Regions from separate parts of the Homo sapiens genome. Here all the other regions are linked to region 1. The links are contacts of gene promoters, found by promoter capture Hi-C in blood cells and fetal thymus (Javierre and others, 2016). All regions are on one chromosome and are shown on one strand. The core of a region is centred on a gene start or on the middle of the fragment in contact, and the rest is flanking DNA. Distances in the headings are between cores, read along the strand shown.

Region 1 (4,457 bases), core at 133-2,632:
CATAACAAACCTATAAAGTTGGTATTGTTTTTCCTGTTTTACACGTGAGATAAGTCTGCCCAAGAACCCTCACAAATGGCAAAATCCACTGCCTATTAAAGAATGCCTTGGAACCCCTTTCAAATGGCGAAACCCTGCAGGTATTACAGCCCTTTCCTCTTACCATGCCTTGAAAGTTCACACAGCCTACTAATAACCAGGATCTGCTTCACTACACTAAAACCAATCACGACTTACACGCTTTTCACTTCTGCTTAACAGATTATAGGTGCTCAACAAATGCATGTCAAAATTAAAACACTGGTCCTCTGGCTTAACCCGGAGGTTAAGGGTGGAAACTGCTATTCCACCCTTCACGACCCTTTTAGCTTTTCCCTGCACTGCCAGTGAAAGGAACTGAGCTGTAACAGTATTCCCTAGGATTGTCAGCCTCCTTCAAAGCCTTCAAAGCTCTGTATTGTATTGCTAATGATGTCTCCTCCCGTAGAAGGTAGCTCAAGGGCAAGATCCATACCATCCACATTCTTATCGCCAGAGCTGAGGAAAATAAAAAGTGCTCAAAATTGTTTAAATGAAGTGGAACAGTCCCTCAAGACTAACTTTCTAAGAGAAAATGAACAAGAGGAAAAATTGTTCCAGCTGAGCAGCTTCAAATTTAAGATTCTCCGTAATAATAAAAGGCAGTTTCACCGCAGCTTTTACAACTCCACCACTAATAGCTGAGTTTACAGAAAGCCATTACACAGCAACAATAAAGCCTGGTAGCAAGGATTAAATCCCCAGGGTATATATTGACCTTGGCTTGTCTGGAGCGGAGGGCGTAAGCTGCACTTCTGTTTGCCGCGCTGAATGCGGTCACTTTACAGGTAAGCTGCTCGGGGGTACACGTTTAGGTTATTAAAAGCAAGAAATAGGTGCACAAGGAAGCGGCCACGCTGGGTGAGTAGGGAGGTGAGAAAGGGGAGGGACCCAGGTTCGGTGCGCCTGCCTGACCTCGACCCCGCGTCCTGCCGGCGGACGCTGCACCTTATGCCCGTCCTGAGAGCGAGCGGCCGCCCGCTGCCCCGCGCCTGCCCAGCGTTCGCACCTCACCTCGGTTCTCCTCCTCCAGGTGCCGCACCCGCAGCTCGTCCTCCGTCTTCATCTCAGAGCTGTAGCCCCTTTTCGGGGCGGGACCCCCGGCCGCAGGTACCCAGCCCTGGGCCCAGATCGCCGGGCCCGCTCGCCGGCCTGCCAACGAGCCGGGCAGCCTCAACCCCGGGCAGAGCCACGCACTGCAAGCGGCCACCAGGCGGGCGCCGCCAGCATGCAGGGATCCCAAGGCCCCAGGTGCCGCCGCCACCGCGGCCGCCATGTTGTCTGTTTACGGCGTGGACCTGCGACGGCCGCTCCGCCCCCGCCCGGCGCCGACCTGCCGCGCGCACGCGCACGGCGTCCGGACCCGCCGCCTCGCTCCGGCTTGGCCCCGCCCTCCGGAGCCGTGTTCCCGCCCCTCACTGCCCCGCCGAAGCCCGGTGACCCGAGGCCTTGCCCCATTCTCCAAGCGAGATTGGATGGTTTGTCCAATACAAAAGGAAAGAAAGTAGTTTTCCAAGGTTATGGAATAATTCAGGGAAGACTTTTCTATAAGAACCACCCGGAGGGAATTATCTCCCCGTACTCCCTGGACCATGCCCTGCGGTCCTGTGTTAAGTAAGCTGCAAAAGTGAACAAAAAAGTTTTGTCTCCTCAAGTTGGCTGAAAGTGTGGCAGCCCATCGTTGGTCACTGCCTTACTTATGGATCTCAGGTTGTTGGTTTAGCGTCCCTGATAAGCATAAATGATGTTTACTACGTGGCGTTCAGGAAAAGGATGAGAACAGCAAACAGGCAAAGGAGTTCTTTCTCCAGCCCACCCACTCGTACCGATGTCCCATGGCCCTTCCTGGACGGAAAGAGTCTTACAGGGGTTCAAACAAGCCATACGCTGAGATGGGATTTAGAGTATGTAGCTCTTCCAGAAACTCGGGATATCAATTTAGTGTGTAGGTACTCATCAAAGCACGTTGCAGTATAATTAATGCTACCTAGCTTTTATCAGATCTCTAATGGGAAAGCTTGCATTTAAGAATACTGGGCAGGGGGCGGTGGCTCACGCCTGTAATCCAAGCACTTTGGGAGGCCGAGGCAGGTGGATCACCTGAGGTCAGGAGTTTGAGACCAGCCGGGCCAACGTGGTGAAACCCTGTCTCTACTAAAAATACAAAATTAGCCAGGTGTGGCGGCACACGCCTGTAATCCCAGCTACTCGGGAGGCTGAGACAGGAGAATTGCTTGAACCCGGGAGGCGGAGGTTGCCCTGAGCTGAGACTGCACCATTGCACTCCAGTCCAGGCAACAAGAGTGAAACTCTGTCTCAAAAAAAAAAAAAAAAAAAAAAAAGAATACTGTTTGAAAAGTGTGCTGCTATGAGCATACGTCTAGTGCCACAGAAATTTCTTGTATTTTTTAGTCCTAAGCAAAACATCCTTCATTATGTCCTCAACTTTTATCCAATGTAGAAACAAAAAGTAGACTGAATTCCATTACTGCATCTGCTGTAAAATGATGTTGAAGGCACTTTTATTTTTATTTTTATTTTTTATTTTTTGACAGGTTCTGGCTCTGTCGGCCAGGCTGGAGTGCAGTGGTGTGATCGCCTCTCGCTGCAACCTCTGCATCTCAGGCTCAAATGATCCTCCCACCTCAGCCTCCTGAGTAGCTGGGATCACAGGCACACACCACCACACCTGGGTAATTTTTGTATTTTTAGTAGAGATGGGTGTTTCTATGTTGGCCAGGCTGGTCTTGAACACCTGACATCAAGTGATCCACCCAACTTGACCTCCCAGAATGCTGGGATTACAGGTGTGAGCCACCATGCACAGCCCACTTTTTATTCTATCTTTTGTAAAGTTCCATGCAGGAAAATTTTCCTGAAGTTTACTACAAGGAAAACTTTGCTTCCTTTGTATCTTTCCTCTTTTCTGATAATGATGTACATGTTGACTGCTGGGTGTTGTGATTTTTATTGTTATGGTTTCTTTCTAATTTGGTCTTGTGGTCACCAGAGGGAGGGTAAATCTGGAGGTGACAGGGAGTTCAGCCAGTGGAAGGGGGTCAAGGAAGGGGCACTTGTGGAGCTAAAGCCTCTGTTGGGGTCCAGCGTGTTACCCAAGCAGTTTCCCATGGAAGTTCTAATTGGTGAGTTTAGAACAAGCAGGCACAAGTTCCATGGAGTCACCCTGTCACTGTGAGGTGGTCACTGGAGCCCATCTACACAGTCCATGTGGGTTATGGAGGTCAACAGGTGAGTCAAGCAGGCTGCATTTACCTGTCCCATAGGGAGATGGTCACCAGGAAGCAGTTGCATTAAGCAGATATCTGGATGGATCACATTGAAGAACTGGGAGGAAGCAGAGAACTGGAAACTGTATCAAAGGTGATTGAGCCCTGCTTCTCATATGAGAAAGTTAAACATATTCAAAATGGATACCAAGGCAAAATAAAATTATGAGAATTACTGTACTAGAGATGGCAGCGGCTGCTCCAGACGGCCTACTGCTGCAGCAGGGAGGCATGGCCAGGGCTGCACGCTCTCTGGCGGGAGCCAGGGACAAGCGGGAGACCCACCCCTTCTGAGTTGGGGTGGGAACTCCCTGGTTGCCTCTGCAGCACAGCTGCAGACTGGGGCCTCCTGCTCCACAGAGCAGGCAGAAGCACCACCCAAGGTGTGGCTGCAGATCTGAGCCTCCCTGTGCTCTTAGGGGGCCAGGAGCAGGCAGGAGCCCTGCCCTCCCCGAGGGCAGCTGTAGCCACCCAAACCACGGCTGCAGCCCCAGGCATCCCTGCACTCTTGGGGGCCCAGGAAGGCCCTGCATGCCCTCACAGGCTCAGAAATGCCTGCTCCTGCTGCCTGGCTTCTCCCTGCTGTTGGCACCTGCTCCATTCTTGGAGCAAAGTTGAGGCTGAACCCAGGCACCATGAATGGCAGTGGGAGGCAGACAGACTCCTGGGCAGAAGGGGGTGGGTCCCCAGTGAGGCCCCAGCTTCTGGCCAAGGAGGGCCTGAAGGCTGGGGGTTGGGCTGCCAGCCCCATGAACCAGAGTGGGAACTTGTGGTGCCTTTTCCGAGCCTGCCCATGGCTGCCCATGGACCAATCAGCGGCAGGCACTTGCTCCCCTCTGAGGCCCATAAAATCCCCAACTCAGCCAGAGCTGAGCAGATGATGGGACAACCAGCTGCAGAGAGGAGCTACCCTCTCAGCTGAGAGCTTCAGAGACTTGCAGAGATGTCAGAACTACCAGCTTCAGAGAGGAGTGACCCTCTCCAGGGCCTCCTCTCTGCTAGGAGCTGGGCAGATGTTAGGACAACCAGCTGCAGAGAGGAGCTACCCTCTCCAGGGCCTCCTCTCTCCTAGGAGCTGGGCAGACTTCAGGA
Region 2 (5,114 bases), core at 305-2,804, 1.9 Mb before region 1:
ATCTTCCCACCCCAGCCTCCCTGGTGGGTATGCTGAGCCCGCCTGCTTTCTTCTTCTGGCTGACGACTACCAAGACATGATATACGCAGACACCAACTGTCAAAATGACAATCAGGGCATTATCATCTCTACCAGAATCCTGCCCCTGCACTGGCCAGAGCTGCCTGTTTCTGGGACACAGTAAACATTCCCAAATAACCTCGCCTGGGCAGCCAGCAGGCAGGCCCCAGGCCTAGGACACATATGAGGTGACAGGCCACTGGTGTCACGTCACCCCCAGGAAAGGAAACTTCCGTTCCGTGGCGCCTGGTGGATTTGAAAAGACTCAGAACAGCAGGGTGAGATGCTTGGCCCCAGGCCCCACGTCCAGCTTGGCCTTCGGGGGCCTGGCCACCCACGAGCCTGGGATGTGCTCAACACAGAGTGAGGTTTTCAAAACAAAAGCAAAGCAACTTCATGTGGAAAACCTTCCGGAAAGCAGGACCCAGCCCTCGACACCAGGCCTCATTTGACGCAAACTGCCCACTTACAGACTCCCATTCACCCACTCTCCCACCTACCCCCCAAAATACTAAGCCAGAAAATAGAGGACAACCACGAGTTCAACTCTCCTTTACACGTTTTTACTGGCATAACCCCAGTAGAGCCAGCCCCTTGCAGCTCACTAGGCGGCTGCAACAGGTGCAGCCCAAGCTAAGGCTTGTGGTTCTCCTGGGCTGTTCTAGAATAATGCAACCAAAACCCGAAAGGAAACCGAGGCCTGCAGCACTCACTGCCAAGGCGGCGACCTGACCACTGCGGCCCAACCTGCCCCACCTGTCTGAGTGCGCGGCGCCGGGTCCAGTGCACAGGGTCCGCGGCCTCCGCGACCAAAATAGAAGCCCGCGGGGGCCCGGCCAGAGCCCGGCTGGCCGGAGTGGGGCCTGACCTGGCGGGGCCGGACTGGGCGGGCCGGGGCGCGACGGGGCCTGGCCGAGCGCACCGCCCCCTCCCTGGCCCGGGTATGCAGCGCGCCCCCGCTCCCCCGCGCCCAGAGGAGCCACCTGCGCGCAGGGACTGGGGAGGCAACCGGGAAGGGGAGAAGGCCGGGGAGGGATAGCAGAGAGGTCCAGGGGGTCGGAGGGGTCCGGGTAGGTGTCTCTGGGAGGCGTCCCAGGAGGGGCCCCGGGGGGATCCAGGAAGGAGTCCAGGGGTCCGGGGATCCCAGAAGGAGGCTCCTGCAGGGGTTCGGGGAGGGCCCCGAGGGTCCGGTGAGGAGCCTAGGGGTGTGGAGTGGGGGCTCCGCGGAGGGTCCAGGCCGCCCCCAGCGCACCTGCCCGGCCCCGCGCGCCCTCCCTCCCGCGCCAGCCCGGCCGCTTACCTGCAGCGCGCGTCCTGCCCGCGGCGGCTCCCGGCCGGGCGAGTTCGGGCGCCAGGAATGGCGGCGGCGGCGGCGGCGGCAGCGGCGGGAGGCGGCCGGGCCGGGGAGGGGGTGGCGGGGAGGCCCGGCGGCGGCAGCGGCGGCTGGGATGCTGCGGCGCGCGAGAGCGCTGAGGCCGGCGCGGGGACGGAGTGCGCGGGGCGGGCGCGCAGGCCCCTCCTCCGCTCCCCCTCCCTTCCCGCCTCCTCCCCTTTCCCTTCCCCTTCCTCTCCCCCTTCTTCTCTTCCCTCCTATGGCCCCGCCCCTTTCTTCCTCCTTCCTCCTCCCTCCTCCTCGCCCCTGCTCACCTCCCTCCTTTCCCTCCCCCAACCTTTCTTTTCCTCCCTTCTCTTTTTCCTCCTCTTTCTTCACCTTCGCAACACTCTTCCACCTCTCTCCCCTTCTCCCCACTTTTGCTCCCCACTCCTTCCTCCTCACCTCCCATCTCTCTTGCCTCCCCGCCAGGCCCAGAGGGTTGTCCCTCAGCCCTGGGTTGGTCTCTGCTGAGTCAAGCACCCGTTCCCAGGACCAAGAGGTGCCCTGTCACCCTCTTCCTCACCAGCTCTCAATAGACAAGCTTGCCCCTTCTGGGGTCCTGGATGAACCCCACCCTTTCCAGGCCTCCCCCAAATCCCCCAGTTTTTTTTCACCCCCAGACCCTGGGCCAGCTCTTCTGAGAACCTGACCTGCAGTGTGCGTGAGGCACGTGGCACCCAGAACACTTGGCTGCTGACTTTGGGCAAGAATATTTCACACCAGGCTGCTCCCATTCCCCAGGGGAGGGGCTGGCACCACCTGGAGTCTTGGTTTCCCTGAACCCCCGTGCTAGCCTTTTGCCAAACGTTCATCATTTTCCACTCTGTATGGCAAATGGTCCTCCTGTGAGGCTGCTGGTGAGACTTGTTTGTGACTAGCCCATGGGTTTGGGGATCTGGGGGCCCTCAGAGATGGTGCTGCTCCATCCAGACCTCTTCCCTCTGCCCCCAGGAGAGGTGACAGGGCTCGCACAGTGACTGGCCAGGCTGGGAGGCCTATTGAGGAACACAGTCCTGAGAAGGGGACACAGTTTCTTACGGAACCAGCTAAGATTTCCCCTAAATGTGAGGAGTTGGGGAGCCCCTCTCCAGGCCAGGTGATACCTCCCTGGACTACAGACTGCTGTTGAGGGGCAGGGGCCCTGAGGCTGTTTTCCTGCTGAGCACTGGCTCTGAGAGCCAGAGTTTACAAATGAAGCCAGTCCCAGGCCCAACAGTCACAGAGTTAAAGGCCCAACAGTCTCAGAGTTCCGTTCTAGGGCCTCCTGTGGTTTCTGTGGTTCAGTGCCGGAGCTCTGAGAATAGGGCTTCGGCCCAGCAAAGGCTAAGATGGCAAAGCTGGTGTCAAGCAGGGTGGGGTGGAGCACGCACCCCCTCCTCCCTCTACGGCATGGCAGCCACCACCCTCTTGCTGAAGAATCCAGACCTGGAATCTGATAGACTCCCTTGACTCACAGCTCTGCAGTTTCCAAATAACCTCAGGCCTCAGCAAACCTCTGTACCCTGCAACATGAGGACAGTGTGGTCGTCCTGGAGGGTTTGGGGAGCACGGAGAGAGAATGGCAGGTAAAGCCCACTGCACCGTGTGCTCGGGTTCAGTGCTGGTGACTATTACAGGAAAAACTAGAGAAGTCTTTTCCAAGCTCTTTTCCAATTGTAGGGGTCCATGAATCCATGTTCCACATCCCATTTGGATTGAAACATAATGGGAACGGATTAGGACAGAACTGGTTTAACAGCATTCTATACCCAAGGAGGGATGCACGCTTAGGATCTACACATGCAAGCATTGCACTGATTGGGGTGGGGTGGGGGGACTCTCTTTTATTCCTCACTAGTCAGACACATCTAGAATACCATGCCCTTGCTTGGTGTCTAAGGCAGCCAGCAGTATCCCGTGGGAGGGGAGTTGACCCACCGGGAGTCTTCAGCCTAGAAAATCAATGTGTGGAGCACAAGACAGAAGAACCCCAATATGTGCAAAACTGTCCCGGGAAGAAGGATTACTCTGTGGTGTTATGAAGGGCAGAATGAGGACAGATGGGTGGAAATTAGATGAGAAAGTGGATTCCTGCCTATCGTGGGCGCTTTCTGACAGACCTCACTGTGGAAGAGCCGGCTGCCCCTACAGGAGCGTGCCCTTCACAGCCAGCGTCTAGACAGGCCTGGGGCCACCTTGGGAACACACTGCAGGGAGGGGACCAGCAGCAGAGGGGTATGCTTCTCAACAACTGCTGAATTCTCTCCTGGCTTTTAGACCCACATGCTCAGAATCTAATAGAGGGCAGCCCAGGGCAAAGAAGAGACTTTGCATGGCTGTCCTGGGGCCCACACTTCTGGCATCATGACCTTCCAGAATACTGTCCTCTCTAGCCTGTTTCCTAATGCATACAGAAGAACATGAGAGAATTCAGTAAAAACTCCAAAAAGCTTTCCGCAATGCCCAGGCTGCGAACACAAGGGCTTCTTTGCACCGTGCTTATATAAAATTGCCCCCAAACATGTTTATTGCATTCATGAAGGAGACAGGACTCTTAGTTGTAAGTGATAGAACTTCAGCCCATACTATTGGCTCACTTGCATCCAAAGATGCCCCAAGTACCATTAGAACCGGGACTTGGATGCCATTATTAGGTCTTCCTCTTCCCTCCTCTCTGACCTTCTTCCCTGTTCCCTTCTCTCAGCATGATTGCCTATGTCTCCCAAAGTGACCAAGCTTGCCTTTTTATTCTTGTTTCACACTCTGTCGTGGGACATTTCAAACATAGATATAAAAGTAGCAGGCTGGGTGCAGTGGCTCACGCCTGTAATCCCAACACTTTGGGAGGCTGAGGCAGGCGGATCACCTGAGGTCAGGAGTTCGAGACCAGCCTTGCCAACATGGTGAAACCCCGTCTCTACTAAAAATACAAAAATTAGGTGGGCATGGTGGCACAAACCTGTAATCCCAGCTACTCAGGAGGCTGAGGCAGGAGAATCACTTGAACCCGGGAGGCGGAGGTTGCAGTGAGCCAAGATCATATACCACTGCACTCCAGCTTGGGCGACAGAGCAAAACTCAGTCTCAAAAAATAAAAATAAAAGTAGCTAAATGAACTCCAATCTTGCCTTACCTCTCACCCCCTTACTTTCCCCTCCAATATTAAGTTCAAGCATATCAAAGATCATATTAACCAATCTATTTCCTAGTTTCCCCAGAAATGCCAAGTGTTTGGATACTGAGACCATGCTTTGCAAAGTTTCTCTGCATTTCCCAGCCAGAATGTTGACACCATCTATATGCATATGAGCATAGTAACTGGATTGATAATAGTTAAGTCCCATATGAGAAAAAAACTCAAGTATGGCAGCACAAATAATACTCAGCTTCCAACACGGCCCAGGTGGATATGAGGAGAGAGGATCCTCTGCTTCCACTTTGCAGTGCAGGAGGGAACAGGCACGTAGTGGGCTGGGAGCCGTTTCCAGATCGCCCAGTGTGGAGCCTTACGCAGTGGAGGAGGTGTCTTCAGAAAGAGTCGGCCTGCCGCCTCTCACCTGTAGTGGCATGCAGAGTGTCCAGGCTAAGCTTAGAGAGAGAGTCAGCACAGCAAGTGGAGAAACGGGGTCCTCTGAGGGACTGTGGGAAGGTTGGCTCTGGGACCTGCCAGCAGCTTCTAGAAAAGTCCGGGGAGATGTCC
Region 3 (4,720 bases), core at 288-2,787, 2.0 Mb before region 1:
TCTCAAGCTCCCATCTCCGCTGAGAGCCACTTCCAACACTAAACAAAATTCTCTGACTCCACCATCCTTTAAGTGTCCATGCAACCTCATTCTTCTTGGATGCCGGACAAGAGCTCAGGACCCTGAGTGTGTGTACCCAAAAAAGGCTGTCATACTGGCCCTTTGCCCTCACTGGCAGAGGACAGCTGTCCCACACAATGAGAAAAGGGGCCCACTGAGCTTATAACACACCACTGTCCATGGAGAACAGAGATAAGAGAGCACTGTAACGCACCCTCTGGGGCTGCGGGGGTCACAGGCACCCCAACCTGGGTGCCACCCTCAGGGCTCACACAAAGCCTGCTCCTGCTGGCACCCAAAACAGCTGGCCAGATCCCACACTTGCTCACTCATGTGCTCCCTCCTGCAAGAGGTTGAGCACAGCAGGCCGAATAAATGGGGCATCTCTGTCGCAAGTCCAACGAAGGGGTTGAGAAAAACTGCATGACTAGCAACTCCTCCAAGCCTAAGGCCTCTGGGTGCAAGGAGGCAGAACAAACCCTGAATTTCTGCACTATTCACCAGTGGGCTTCACTATTCACCAGTGTTCTGTAGTCAAAGTTTCAGGCCATCTGAATACATTCAATTCATATAAACTTTAAAAAAGTATTTCTCAAAGGCCAAATATGTTTGGCACCTGCTTTGAGAAACCCAATCCTGATACTCAGGAATAGAGGGATGAGCTCCAAGACGCATCACAACAAAACCAAGCCCAGCAGAATGAACAGAGCCTGGAGAAAAGGCTGGCCTGCACTGCAGGCATGCTGGCATTCAGTAGATTAAAACAACCAAGAAATACTTGAATGGGATTCTTTGTAGCTTGCAAAAGAAATTTACCTGTTTTGATTTCCCCTTTTCTGCACATTTTGCTTTTTTGTCTTCTGAGACCTTCCAATACACCTGTTGGGATAGAGTCCATATCAGTGCATATTCTTTTAAAGAGATACTAGTATAAAAATGCACAATTTTAAAAGCACATGATAGAGTTTAGAGCCTAGAGGTTTCTCCTGAGATGATCAATTCTCAGACTGCAAGGGAGGTTCAGAGAGCAGGGGAGCAGCCTGGGGCCTTCATGAACATCCTCACTGTGATCCTTATCCTGAAACCAGTGGAGTCTGGAAGACCAGCTCCAAAAGTTCCATCACTCACCATAAAACAGCAGCAAAAATCAAACTCGTGAAAGTGGAGAAAATTAAATTATTTTTCAAAAACCTAAACCATAAGTATTTTCAAACATCAAAGTGGGCTTTTTTCCATCCATTCAAAGTGACTCTACAGGCCGGGCGCAGTGGCTCACACCTGTGATCCCAGCACTTTGGGAGGCTGAGGCAGGCGGATCACCTGAGGTCAGGAGTTCCAGACCAGCCTGGCCAACATGGTGAAACTCCATCTTTACTAAAAATACAAAAATTATCTGGGAGTGGTGGCGGGCGCCTGTAATCCCAGCTACTCGAGAGGCTGAGGCAGGAGAATCTCTTGAACCCGGGAGGCGAAGGTTGCAGTAAGCCGAGATCGCACCACTGCACTCCAGCCTCGTGTGCCTGGGCAACAGAGTAAGACTCCGTCTCAAAAAAAAAAAAAAAAAAAAAAAAAAGTGACTCTACAGTCCAGTTTAAAAAAAAAAGCCACAATATTCACTGTATCAGTAGAAAGGGAGATTTACGATTCCTTAAACTTGCATGTTGGCAGCAGGAGGAAGTGATGAACTAACACCACCAGCTCAGCTCAGGCACCATCTTAGTAAGATCCATGTTCCTACCACCTCTTCTTTCAAACCAGGGACAATTCGTGATCAGAAACTTCCAGGGGGTGGGGGCCTTAGCCCCTTGCCCTCCAAAGCCCCCACAGAATAGAAAGCAACATAAGACAAAAGGGAAGGTTTCTATATCTATCTCTGCCTCACCTTCCCCAAAATGCCCCCTCTCTCTGTGATGTTCCATAACTGATGCAAAAGAAACCAGTAACAATGTATTTTTCTCCACCAAAAGGCTTGTAGCAGGTGTCAGGACTCAGAGGTTAGGAAGCACACAGGGCTTCTAGGAGGGAGAGTATGAGGAGAGGAACCCCACTTTAGGTTTCTAACTAACTCTGTGAGTTCCTGAACAGCACCCAGGCTGCAGACACAGTACTAAGGGAGTGTCATTTCATAGAAATGGAAGTCCTGATAGGGGCACACAAAAGCGGAACAGAGTCTCATTTAAAATAGCCACTTCCTTCAGCATTTAAAGTACAGATGATTTCGTCAACTCGCATGAAATGCATAAGGACAAGGGAACGTACACTTCAACAGACTCTTGATCACGTTTGCAGGGATTTTCACTGATGCTTGGCGGGGGTCTCTTTATTTTTTTCTTTTAAGTATAAGAGGTCCCCAAGCCTCTCCCCAACCCCGAGGGACCACCATGGTGTCATTAACAGAGCAATGTCTGGCTCTCACTGAACACCTGTGGGGCCAGCACAAACACACTGTCCACAATTCCCCCAAGACCGAGTGTGAGCCTGTGTGGTCAGGAAGGCGCTCAGAGGAAGAGAATTTAACAGACACGCGAAGAGTAAGAGCTGAGTGAGGTGAGACCACCACATCTTTCTGCTCAGAGTGCCTCACAGTGCTGAATACTTTGTTTTTGTTTTTTTGAGACAGGGTCTCGCTCTGTTGCCCAGGCTGGACTGCAGTGGCATGATCTCAGCTCACTGCAGCCTCGACCTCCTGGGCTCAAGTGATCCTCCCACTTCAGACTTCCAAGCACCTCAGACTCCCAAGACCTGAGCCACCACACCTGGCTATTTTTTGCAGTTTTTGTAGAGAAAGGGTTTCGCCATGTTGCCCAGGCTGGTCTCAAACTCTTGAGCTCAAGTAATCCGCCTACCTCGACCTCCCACAGTGTTAGGATAACATGCGTGAGCCACAGCACCCAGCCAAATACTTGTTTTCAGAGCATAATGCTCAGAGCTCATTTATGTGTCAAACAGAAATTGAGAAATAAGCTAGACCCTGGAGATGAAAACAAAAAGAGATCTGGGCAGAAAATGTCCAGCGTGAACCTGGAACAGATTCCAGAGAGCAAGAAAACTAACCCCACACCGCGAGGTCTCAGGAGCCAACCCAAACAGGCTGCTGTTGACCATGGATGCGACGATTTGAGCATGAGGTAGGTGTTTCACTGTGATGGGTCAAAGAAGAGCAAATATCTTTAAATCTATGACTTCATTGTGACACTAAAAATCAATCAAAAAACTCACTCTTGCCCTTCAGAGGGGAAACTGACTCATTAACTCATTATTCTGAAAACTGGTAAATAAAGGCAAAGATTCCAAGCATCGATTCTGCATTTCCCAAAGGAAATGGGACCTCTACGGACCAAAATAGCTGGTGATGGGCACTTCCCCTTTTATACGATTTCCAGCTAACAAGTAGAGAAGGAGAGGTAGAATCAGAACATTGCGTTTTGCAATCTTTGATGAGAAGAGCATCTAGACTTCGCTGGTCAAAGGCCACCGAGACTGAGGAGGAGGAACACCTGCCTCCATGGAGAAGCCCGCCTCACAGCCCTGAGAGGGATGAGCCTGGATCTGACACCCAGCTGGGGATGTGAAGACAGAGGTGCATGCTAAAGACACCATGAGTGGGGCTGGGTGTGGTGGCACATACTTACAGTCCCAGCTACTCAGGAGGCTGAGGCAAGAGGATCACTTGAGCCCAGGAGTTTGAGGCTGCAGTGAGCTACAATCAAATTTTAAATTCGGTTTGATTTTTTAAAATGTTTAAAGACACCGAGGAATCAGGAGCAATGTGAAGAGTGGGACATGGGATGGGCTGTGCAGAGTAGCTTTCTCAGGAAGGAAACCGAGGCTGGCTCCTAGAAGCGGAGACTGAATGGACAGGGTGACCAGCTGCAATGGATTGGGACAGCGTGGTTGCAACCTGATTCAAACTAAACGTTTGAACCAACTAAACAAGCATCATCCACAAGAGTCGGTGAAATATGAACACTGGCTGAATGTATGATGATATAAATTTTGGAGAAGCTATTTTTGATTATTTGCACGACAAGGGGCCCTTTCCAGTAAGAGATACCCAGATGAAGAATGTGGTGTCGGGATCTGCCTCAATGCCCCAGGAGGTGGAGGGTACTGTAGGCAAGACTGAACACCCGGCCTTGCATAAGCTGCAGTGGGCACAGGGCTCATGGCATAGCTGTCTCTGCTCATAGGTATGTTTGAGATTTTTTCATAATAAAAAGTTCAAAAAAAAAAAAAGCAAAGAGGGTGGTCCCCGGGTGAACTGCTGGTGGACACCCAAAGATGGGGCTGCATGGTCACAGCTACAGAATGGAGGCTCCAGGTAAGTCAGCCCCCAGCCCCACAGTGGGGCCAGGAGAGGCTGCCCACTCAAGCTGGGCTATGTGGACATGCAGGGGAGCCCAGGACGTACCTCATGCTGCTTCTCGGAGATGTTGAGTGCGTTCACAGCGAAGACCGCCTCCCGGGCACCTATGTACAAGGTGTCCTTGTCCTCGCTCAGCAGCAAGGCTGAGTAGTTGTAGATGTCTGGCTCATGAAACTGCACCAGGTGCACCTCTGTGGGATGCAAGGGCAGGGTCAGAGTGGGAGGAAGAAAAGAGCGATGGAAGCATTTTTAAACCTGAGCACATCCTAGGTCCCTGTCTCAGTGACAATGAGC
Region 4 (5,059 bases), core at 1,469-3,968, 1.8 Mb before region 1:
GTTAGGGAATTGGCACCTTTGGCCATGTCTGTGTAAGAGTGGCCTGCTAAGCGGTGTCCTAACAATGCTGGGACCACTTTTACCAGCTCTGGTACCCTTTCTGTCACCAGTTGCTGGAATGAGCAGTACCCATCAGGGAGAGCAGTAGGTCTCTCTGCATTGCTCCATATTAGTTATAAAGGGAGATGTCCATATACATTTTCTGACATAAACGGAGTGAGGAATTCTTGTCACATTGCATATTCACGACATATGTTGGAGAAAATATTCTACCTCCTTCCCTGCTAGAATTCATTCCGTTTACCCACTCTCTTATTTAGAGACTGCCTGGCACCAGCTGAGAGCCTGACACAGTGCTGGTGTGGCCAGGTCCACCCCCGCCATGGCCCAGCAGGTCCCTCTCCTTGCCGCATCCACCTCTTTCCATCTTTCCTCCTTCCCTTTCCTGGGTCTGGCCTGTCATTTGCCAGTGGTCCCCAGACCCTTGAAGCAGGGATCTTTGTCTCTTTGTACAGAGGGGATTCATTCCCAGCTGGAATGAGGCAGACACTGTCCTTGCTCATCCAGCCCCCTTCTCATGGGCACAGTGTAAGAGGCTGATCCAAGGCTCTGTAAGCAACTCAAAGACCTGGCAGGACATCCTTGTGATGAAGGTTGTTACCACCACTGTACAGGAGAGGAAAGAGGCAGGAAGCACCTGGGTGATCCAAGACTCTCCCCTTAGGGCATATTGGCCCTAGGTGGCCTGGTGGTGGCCTCCTGGTAGGCGCTGAAGGGTGGGGCAGGGAGTTGCTCAAAGCCAGGGGCCAGCAGGAGCAGAGGCGAGCTGGAAAATAGCAGAGATGGATGGAGCTGGGCAAAGGAGAGGATGGGGGAGCTGCATGGGTCCATGACACCTGCTCTGACAGGGTTGCCATCCTCTTCCTCATTGAACTTAGTGCCTGTTGCATCCTAGAGCAAGGCAGGGGCCGGGACGCACATACCTCCATGAGGAGGGTGAGTCTCTCCAGGTTACTTAAATCAATTATCCTGGGGAAGTGCAAGAGCGGTGGGATCCAGCCTGAGAAGACAAGGGGAAGGCTGGGTGGAGCCGTCTGGTTCAACCACCCTGAGCTGGGTCATCTGTCATGGAAACCGAGAGTGAATAGAGCAGCCCACTGTCCTCTCGGCCATGAACTATTTCTTACAGTAGACTCTTCAGTAAAATGGAAATGCACCATCCAGGTTCTCTTCTGGGCTGTTTTTTAAAAAATTAATATTACGGTTTAATGTGGATTCAGGGGAACTAGTAAACATTTCCCATCTATTCAAAATATCAGGGAAGGATGTGAATATATATGCTCAACAGCTCCTGATAAGCGAAAGAGCCTGGGTTTGCTGCTGAGTTTTCTCCAGTGCTAACTGAGCACATACACTAGTGACCACAGACACCCTGCTCTGATGACCTCCGACATCCTCCTGCAAAACACACTCACTGATTCCAAAGGGCAGAATAGCGACTTTAGGCTGGAGAAACCTGGCAGACACCATCTTGGTCAAATGATCATCATCCCATGGCAATCAATAACCAGAGGACACCCCATGACAATCAAGAACCAGAAGACAAATCAAAGCACATGATCCTGATATGACACACCAAGAAGGACACAGCATCACCACTGTGATGGTCCAGTTAATGGTTTATCACCTGAATTGAATCAGGAGGAAACAGCAGATAAGCTAGCCAAACCCCAGCAGTGTGCGGGGTGGAGGTGGAGAGGAGTCTGTAACATAACAGGCCTGAAATATTAAAAAGATATCAATGCCATGAAATGTTACTGTCACAAAGCAAAACTCAGGAATGGTTTTGGATTCAGGGAGATGACAGAGATGTGACTACTGAATGGACCTGTGATCCTGGACTTTCTTTTGCTACAGAGGACATCACTGAAACAACTGACAAAAATCTCAGTATGGTTTGTAGATTAGGTAATTATATCAATATTAATTTCCTGAATTTCATCATTTTACTACAGTTGATAGATTTAGGATAATATTCTTGTTTTTAGGCAATACACATTGAAGCATTTAATGGAAAAGAGGCAACATGTCTGTATCTTACCCTCAACTGGTTCGGAAAATAATATATATACTTGAAGGAGAGAGACAAAGCTGAAACAAATATAGTAAAATGGGGGAATCTGGGTGAAAGGTACATGGGAATACTTTGTTTTACTATTTCTATAATTTTCCTATGTTTGAAACTTTATCAAAATTAAAAAATTTAAAAATACCTCCAAAATACAGAGGCTTAAGACAGAAGATTGTGTCTTGTCTACTGAACACAACAGTGTGGAGTGTACAGGCTAGCAAGGAGGCTCGGCTCCACACAGCCATGCAGGACCCCAGACCCCTTCCCTTGTGACTGCATAATTGAGTCACAACAGCAAGGAGGAGAAGGAAGCTAGTTGGCCAGCTACAAACTTCTGTTTGAGCAAGGAATGTAGAGGAACTGGGGCCCAAGACCACCCCATGCAGCAAGGGAGACTGGGAATGCAGTCTCTGGCTGGGAGTCCCTGTGCAAAGTCAAAACGCCATTACTGTGGATCATCAGAGAGCAGACCCGAGGGCTCGTGAGCAGTCTGCCCCCTCACCGGTTCTCAGATTCAGAGGTAATCTGAAGAGTGGCCATGACCGTGATAAGCCTCAAGGTTCTGCAACTAGTCTATATTTCTCACATCTGCCCTTGCCTGACAGCGGCTTCCTGTGGGGGCCTCACACCATCCTGCCCCTTAGATTCTGAAACAGCGCCTCCCATCCACCCTATACCTTGCACCTTTTGGCGAATGAATGACCACACACTTATGTGCATGCATGCATGCATTACCCTGGGCTCTTGTTAAAAGGCAGATTCTGATTCTGTGAGGCTAATTAGCTCCCAGGGGAAGCTGAGGCTGCTGGCCCTGGATGCACTGGGCAGCAGAGGTCTATGGGCATCTTCAGGGTGCACCTGCGTGCTTTGGAGATGAAGGAGCTGTGACTCCTGTTCCTTTTGAGAGGGCAACGCTGGGAGGTGTTGGGTGCATGGGAAATGCACCAGCAAGTGGGACTCACCTTCCCTGGGGTGGATGTCATGCCGCATATGGGATTTCACCCGTGGCAGGCTGTTCATGTCGGGTGTTGCTGAAGAGATTGGTAAATTAGGCAGAGTTTTGGAGGAAGTTACCTTGCAGGTCCCTCCCAAGTTTAAATTTGCCTGTGGGTTTGTGAGTAAGAAAAAATAACCTATATACTTCACATTGTGTGGCTGATGAGGGGAATTCAGAACTGAAGACCATGGGTGATTCAGAGAATTCCTGATTTTGTAAGAAAAGCAGGGTATACACCCTGACTGATCCTCCCAAGTACAGCTGAGTTGCACAGTAGGCTGTGCCCCAGGGTAGCTGTTTAGCTGTAAGCCAATGTTCTGCCTGTGGTGTGGCCCAATGAACCTGAGGCTGGAGGCCTGGCACATGCTGGCTAGAATCCCAGCTCCACCATTGGCTGTGTGACCTTGGGCATGTCGTTAAACTCCCTGAAACTGAGTACTCCTATCTGTGAAGTGGGCATGGGTATTACAGCTGACACAGGAACGCTCCCTGATGGTGGGGTCTCTTTTCCTTGTTGATGGTGGTTCACACTGCTCTGTGACTACCAAACCCTACTGCACCATCCTCTGAGCCGGCCTGACTTCTCGGGGGCTGCCCAGCTGTGGCACAGTGGGGTCTGAGCCCACTGTTACCAGGGTCTGCTGCATCTGGATATTAACCTTAATGTGTGATGAGAGCCCATGGGCTCACCAGAAACACGCTTACAGGGCAGCACTTGCAGGCCTGGAAGGGTTTAGGCCAGCTGAGGTGTTAGAAGCTACTTTTTAGGGCTGGAAGCGATATTCTCTTTGACCGCAAGATGTCACCCTGCAACCATGACATTGGGACAGGCACTGTTGGATTCAGGGTTCCTGAGGAGAACCAAAAATGGTTTTGAAACCTCATTTTCACCTGGATGCTCTCCTTGTCCTTGGTGGTCAAATGGTTTGTTCTAAAGGCTCGAGAAATGGTTTCACAGTGAAATTCATCTGTTCCCTCTTGCTTCAGAGAGGAGCTCAGAACACCCAGCTTTGCCACCTCCTGGCTGTGTGACCTTGAGCAAGTTGTTCAACCTCTCTGTGCCCAAGATTCCTCATGCCTAAAATGGTGATAATAGCACCTACATAACGAGTTTGTTATGAGAATTAAACAATGTTTTCAAAGTGCTTGGAACAGTGCTTGGTGCACAGCAAGTCCTGGAAAAGTCTAGTAAATAAAATAACAACAATACTACTAATAGTGTACTCAAGGAGTGCCACACCCTTCTCAAACAGACAAAATTCAAACACTGAAAAATTAAATAATACCCTACAGTCTCAAGCACAGGTTGAGTATATTACATGTTTTGAAATTTTAGAATTCCCTGCTGTGTTATGTAGGCAATGGAAACAATTTTCATAATCTATTACTGTAATTCATTTCTGGAAAACAGACATTTTCAACAAGAAGGGAGTGGAAGATAATTTCTTCCATTGCTGCTTGCCTCAGTGTGCGCAGAGGATCCCCAAGGGTCCTGTGAACCGCATTTGTAAGGAAAGGTGCCGTCCAGGGTGTTTGGTTCTGACTTGCCGGCTGGCCTTCTTTCCTGCCTCCAGCATGTTGCCTGGGATTCCATCCCAGTCATGCCAGAGTTAACCTCCGAGTACAGTTATGACGATTTTCACTCAGTCACAGGCGCAGACCGGCGTCAGATGGCAAGAGGAGGAGTGCAGGAATCAAAGGTCACAGTCTCAGGAGCAAAGCCCCACAGACGTCTGGCTTCTGGATCTGTGACCATATGGTCAAAGATTGCTCTGCACAATAACCTCCAGAGCAGTCAGGTTGAGGATGTCTGGTACTGAAGTTACTCCATTTGAGAAGTTTTATATATTTTTGTTAAATAAAATTGAATTGTAAATGTTTAATTGCAGTAAAGCATAGTGAAGAAAATTAAAAATCACTTATAATCTCAT
Region 5 (5,014 bases), core at 2,113-4,612, 1.7 Mb before region 1:
TCCTTTGTCCTTTAGGCCCTCCATGCTCTTGAGGTGCTGGGCACAGGGAGGAGAAAACTGGGTGACCTCCAGAGGGAGAAGGGAGCCCGTGAGTGCCATGTCGGGATGGGAGAAGCCAAGCCTCAAGGACAAGAAGCTGAAGGTGCAATTACTAGAATGCTTTGTATACTTGATCCTCTTGTACCAAGACACATGTGGCCCCCAGACTCATTCATGTATTTGATAGACAACTCTGTCATATGTCCACCAGGGGTTTAGAAAAACCCTGTTGCTTATTCTTGAATGGAATCATCCAAAAATGATGGGATATCACTTAGGAAGCATCATGTCTCAGCAAAGCCTTGTGCTCTCTAGAAGGACAATTTTGGGTGCATTAGAGCTCTTTCTGCATTGTTTTCTTAAAGCTTTCTGTAGTGTTTAGTGATGATATTTGGGAATCAAAGTACATAGTTAATTTGAATTTGCAATAAGAAAAACTTCTAAGAGGTAATACTTTTCTCCTTTAGCAAGAGAGGCCATGCTCTGCCCATGCACCGGGGGAGGGGCAGAAAGAAGGAAGCTGAGGAGCCTGCAGGAGACTGGCTGATTTCTCACCAGCTGAGCCCTCTGGACAGCTTTGTCCAGGGCTTCATGGCTGTGGAGAACAGATCCTGCATGCCTTTTGTCTTCTGTGAGCATCTGCCACTCTGGTATGGCCACCAAATGCTCTTCTCCCTGGTGCATGCCAGGGAGCTTTGCGCACAGCATTCCACAGATAGCATGGACTAGGGAACACACCCCAGGTGGACATGTGACAGGCAGAAGACTTGTGCAGCGTGCTGTTCAGGGCGAGTGTGCAAAGACAGGCCACCTCTTGGGGAGACGGCCCATAGCGCGGAAAGAAGTCATCTTCCTTTCCGGCCATTCTCTTTTTCTCTACACACGAGCCCTGCAATAGGACTCAGTGGCTGCCGCCTTCAGTCTGGGCTGGGCCACTCCTGCTCTCGAGGGTGGAACACTGAGATCTAAGGGCCTCTCCCTGTCATGATCCCTGTTTATCCTTCGTTGTGCTCAACACGATGTTTGTCATTACTAAAGCGCTCTTAAAATTGCATCTGCACGTCTGAATAGCCTGCTAATGCAGAGCTGCCCTTTGCATTCAACACAGGAACCTGCTTCTGCCTGGCTCTAGGACAACACTTCTTGCTGGGCTCCTGCCAAGTGCGGCTGGGCTGGGCCTGGAGCGACCAATCCACTGATCCACCAATCCGGAGGGCAGCCCAGGAGGAGCGGGATCTTAGTGGATGGACGCCCTGCCTGTCTGTGGAATGGCTTCTTCCTGGGGCAACCCCGAGAACAAGAGGGAAAACAGCCTCTCCCCCTCGCCTCCTGCCCTCCTGCAGGCAGCCACCTCCTCAGCTAATTGAAAACAAAAAGGGACGCAGTTGTGAAATTCAGCCCCCAGCGCCATCATCATCTCCTGCGGGCTCAGGGGGCTCCTCACTGTGTTTATTTACAAATCAGCACATGTTGTTTTGGCCACGGCAGCAGACAGTGACCCCAGAGAGGGAGGTCCAGAGCACTACACAAATTGCACAACACAAGCAGGTCATCTGTCCCCTTTGCTGAAGATTCCTAAGAAAACAGAGGCAGCTGACTCTCAGGCCATCTGGAAGCCACCCTCAGGGGCCGAGCGCTCGGGGGCGTGTACGCCAGCCTTGGGGGTGCTATCCGGACACCAACAATGTCACTGCTGCTGCCAGCCTCAGTTTCTCCATCTGTGAAGGGCGCATGGTTGTGGTGGTGGGGCGGGGGGTGGTGGTCAGCATGCAGTGATTAGCAGCCACCTGGGGTACTCTACCGGGCAGGCGTCTGTGCTGTGTCCTATAGTTTCAGCCGCACGTTCTCTCATTTTACAGATGGTAGAGCAGCTGGGTGGCTGCCGATTCTCGCCCTGCCCATGGCTGCCCTGGCCTGTGGCCGAGGCTGTGATGAAGGGCAGCCTGTTCTGTGCGACGCAGTTAAGCAAGGTGTCCGGTGGGCTGCATTGTGACCGGGTCAGCCAGGCCCTCCTCTTTGTCTTGCTTCTGCTGGCAGAGCTCACAGCGCAGTTTCTGCATGGAGGCTGCCGGAGTTGCTTCCTGCTCCGTGCTCCCACACCGTTCTTCAGCTGACCAAGTAGTGACAGCAGGACTCCAGGGTTCTGTCCCTGTGCGGCAAAGCACACACTTTCAGTGCTGCGGTTGATGCTTGAGACGCTCAGTGGGAGGTCATTGCTTGGACTAGGACTACAAGTCCAAGCACAAACGTCCCCCTGAGGTGTCACCTGGGGTGTTAGGAGTGGGGGATGGGAAGAGGAACAATACTGGGATGGGGTTCTTGAGGAGACTTTCGAAAGGATCTAAGAGGAACTGACCTCTCCACCTCCCCCAGACTGTGCACAAAGAAAATGGGCCCAAGAATCCCCAGAACTGGGCTCCGAAATCCTCACTGTCTCCTTGCTGGTCACCAGCAATTGCTGTGACTCACTCTCCTGGTGCTTCTGTGGGCCATCTGGGCACCTTGGGGAAGTCCCAGGGATCCCCAACAGCACTCCTTTCTCCCTGTATGTTCTATCCCACTGCCTTCCCAGGCGGGCCTGGAGGGAAGAGCAGTGGCCAGGTGTCTTCAGGGTCCTGCAGGGCTGATGGGAGTGGTTTCTGTGGGTACTGTGGCTCTCCTGTGTGGGTTTCCTGCCCTGGGCTCTGTGTGTGGGCCTTGATGGGCACTGGGCTGTTCTTCTACCTTGTGGCACCTGGCCCTGTAGAGATGACAATTTCTGAAACAGGAGCATTTCCTCTGAATTCCAAGGAACTTTGCTCAAGGGCCAACTTTGCCTTATGCAGGCTGGAGCCTGAATGCTCGCTCTGCTACCAGCTGTGTGACCTTGTGAAAAGTCCTTAACTTCTCTGGGCCTTACTTTCTCATCGGGATAATATTACAAAAGGCTGCTTGAGAAATGGGATGCTTTCAGAGATAACATAGAATGAAAGCACCGGGCACAGTAAAATTCAACTGCTATTAGTTCCTTTCTCCCTTATTCAAGAAGGAAGGCAGATGAAAGCAGATTTCAGGAATGGCAGCTTGGAGAAGAGGAGAGGGAGTGGGGGTCTAGAAGAGGAGAGGCAGTAGGGGCTATGATAATCCTCTGACATTGGCTGAGAGCCAGCAGTAAGAAAGAGAAACAAGCTGTCCTTCATGTACCCACTGGCTTCTTCCTTGCACCCTCGGGTGCCGAGCTGAGCTGCAGACACCCAGACCTGACAGCCCTTCCTCCAGAGCTGGCGGTCCAGGTGGGGAGTGACATTTGGCTGATTTCTGATTTTGAAACACAGAAACCAGGAGAGTTGAGTTAAACCAGGTTTACCAATGTGAGTGGCTTATTGGCTATAGGTGCCCCAGCCAGGTATGGAAGTCCAGAGCTGGAGGGTGTGTGAGCTCCCTGAATGCAGGGCCAGCCCTGGCAGGCGAGCACACAGCTAATGGTAATGGATGGCATAGGAATACGGAGCCAAGGTTTCTGGCAAGAAAACAATGAAAAATGCACTATCTCTGAATTTTTCTCTGGGACTCAGTTGAATTTTAGTGGTCATGACCAGAAATGAAATTCAACCAGTTGACTGATATTTTTAGAAATGCCTCAGGCTTTATCATCTCAACTCTGGGGAGTGAGTATCCCAGAAATCTTGGGAGTGTGGGTCACAGCACCTGAATGTTAGTCCTTTACACCTGTAACATCAGAATTATGGATTCCTGGGTTCCCCTTGCAGAGATTCTAGTTGGGTTGGAGCCTGGGAATCTGTATAAAAATACCTCCCCAGATTTGGAACCACTACCATAGACAATTAAGCAAAGAATGAGGTAAGGCATTCTTTTCTCCAAAATGTAATTTTCTGGGGCCCTGCTAGAGATGTGTCACCTTTCTAGGCCTCTTCTCTGGTGGGAGCTCAGATCCTCCTGAGAAGGGCACGAATGAGAGAGACTCTGACCTTTCCCTCTGTCCTTTGCTCTAAAAACACAGCCCCGTTTAACCGGACAGAGGATGACTTTCTTCTCTGGAGTGCTCTGGGTCACGCTTGGGGACACATGAAGGATACGCCCTCCCTTTCAGGCTCCCATCGCACGTTGAACCTGGCTTGTGAACACAGCCCTCTGGGACACTACTAGGAACAAAGTGTTCCGGATGCTGCAGAAGCTCAGCTGCCACCTGGAAAACCTGTTTGGCCACTTTAGGTCCAGATGACGGGAGCCAGTCCGGCTCAGGAGAACAGAGCTGGCCCAGTAACACCTCGCTTCCTCCCTGCTGCAGAGACCTGGGAGGGCCCTGCCCAGCACAGCACACTGGAGTGGCCCTGCGGCAGCATCTGGGCTGCTGTACCCATGGTGCCTCCCAGCCCGAGGGGCTCCCGGCAGCTCTGGAGACTCCTGCTGTCACGTCACCTGGCCCCTCACCATCACCATCCTCATCTCTCTTGGGTGGGTATGTCCGCACCATTCCTAGCCTCATTTATTTATTTATTTATTTTTGAGACAGGGTCTTGCTCTGTCACCCAGGCTGGAGTGCAGTGGCACCATCTCGGCTTACTGCAACCTCCGCCTCCAGGGGCTCAAGTGATCCTTCCACCTTAGCCTCCTGAGTAGCTGGGACCACAGGTGCACACCACCATGAGCAGCTAATTGCATTTTTGGTAGAGATGGGGTTTCTCCATGTTGCCCATGGCTGGTCTCGAACACCTGAGCTCAAGTGATCTGCCTCCCTTAGCCTCCCAAAGTGCTGGGATTACAGGCGTGCACCACTGCACCTGGCCTCATTTAAAGACTGAGAAAACCAGATCCCAAGAAATTTGCTCACTATTGAGGATAGCTGTCAGCAGACACCAGATTTGGGCATCGAGTTAGCAAGCTCTGGCCGTGTGCTTGAGTACTAGCCCAAAAAACATCCCCAGAGTCATTTGTAGAATGAGTTCTTCTTACTTACCCTTATTAAAAGACTTAA

The links. Contacts are between HindIII fragments. The CHiCAGO score rates a contact against its expected background, and 5 or more counts as called.
Region 2: the fragment with the promoter of SEMA4D here is called in contact with the fragment with the promoter of AUH in region 1 in 2 of 17 cell types (neutrophils and total CD8 T cells); the score reaches 9.1 in neutrophils.
Region 3: a contact is called between a fragment that was not itself captured here and the fragment with the promoter of AUH in region 1, in 1 of 17 cell types (naive CD8 T cells). The highest score is 5.3, in naive CD8 T cells.
Region 4: a fragment that was not itself captured here is called in contact with the fragment with the promoter of AUH in region 1 in 1 of 17 cell types (neutrophils); the score reaches 8.2 in neutrophils.
Region 5: a fragment that was not itself captured here is called in contact with the fragment with the promoter of AUH in region 1 in 1 of 17 cell types (neutrophils); the score reaches 5.3 in neutrophils.

What each region holds. Positions count from the first base shown.
Region 1 is chr9:91,360,536-91,364,992 of GRCh38, forward strand. It overlaps AUH (AU RNA binding methylglutaconyl-CoA hydratase), which reads right to left and starts at 1,383. Exons shown (of 10, transcript NM_001698.3): 1 at 1,093-1,383. The coding sequence starts at 1,354. RefSeq lists silencers at 1,114-1,553, 4,298-4,457. The HindIII fragment of the contact is 2,357 bases long and covers 1-2,093 here.
Region 2 is chr9:89,496,559-89,501,672 of GRCh38, forward strand. SEMA4D (semaphorin 4D) reads right to left here and starts at 1,555. Exons shown (of 16, transcript NM_001371194.2): 1 at 1,361-1,555. RefSeq lists silencers at 875-1,024, 1,455-1,644. The HindIII fragment of the contact is 2,547 bases long and covers 1-1,974 here.
Region 3 is chr9:89,398,400-89,403,119 of GRCh38, forward strand. It overlaps SEMA4D (semaphorin 4D), which reads right to left. Exons shown (of 16, transcript NM_001371194.2): 4 at 4,472-4,617; 5 at 877-939. Among named protein-coding and RNA genes, the nearest start is that of SECISBP2, 82 kb to the left of the region's middle. The HindIII fragment of the contact is 8,794 bases long and covers 1-4,720 here.
Region 4 is chr9:89,594,375-89,599,433 of GRCh38, forward strand. LOC105376139 (a long non-coding RNA gene) reads right to left here. Exons shown (of 2, transcript XR_930105.3): 2 at 4,422-5,059. Among named protein-coding and RNA genes, the nearest start is that of GADD45G, 8.1 kb to the right of the region's middle. The HindIII fragment of the contact is 9,165 bases long and covers 1-5,059 here.
Region 5 is chr9:89,660,889-89,665,902 of GRCh38, forward strand. It overlaps LINC03062 (long intergenic non-protein coding RNA 3062), which reads left to right. Exons shown (of 6, transcript NR_024280.1): 2 at 4,040-4,494. Among named protein-coding and RNA genes, the nearest start is that of LINC03062, 24 kb to the left of the region's middle. RefSeq lists enhancers at 885-1,421, 1,106-1,400, 1,422-1,959, 1,960-2,496. The HindIII fragment of the contact is 5,920 bases long and covers 403-5,014 here.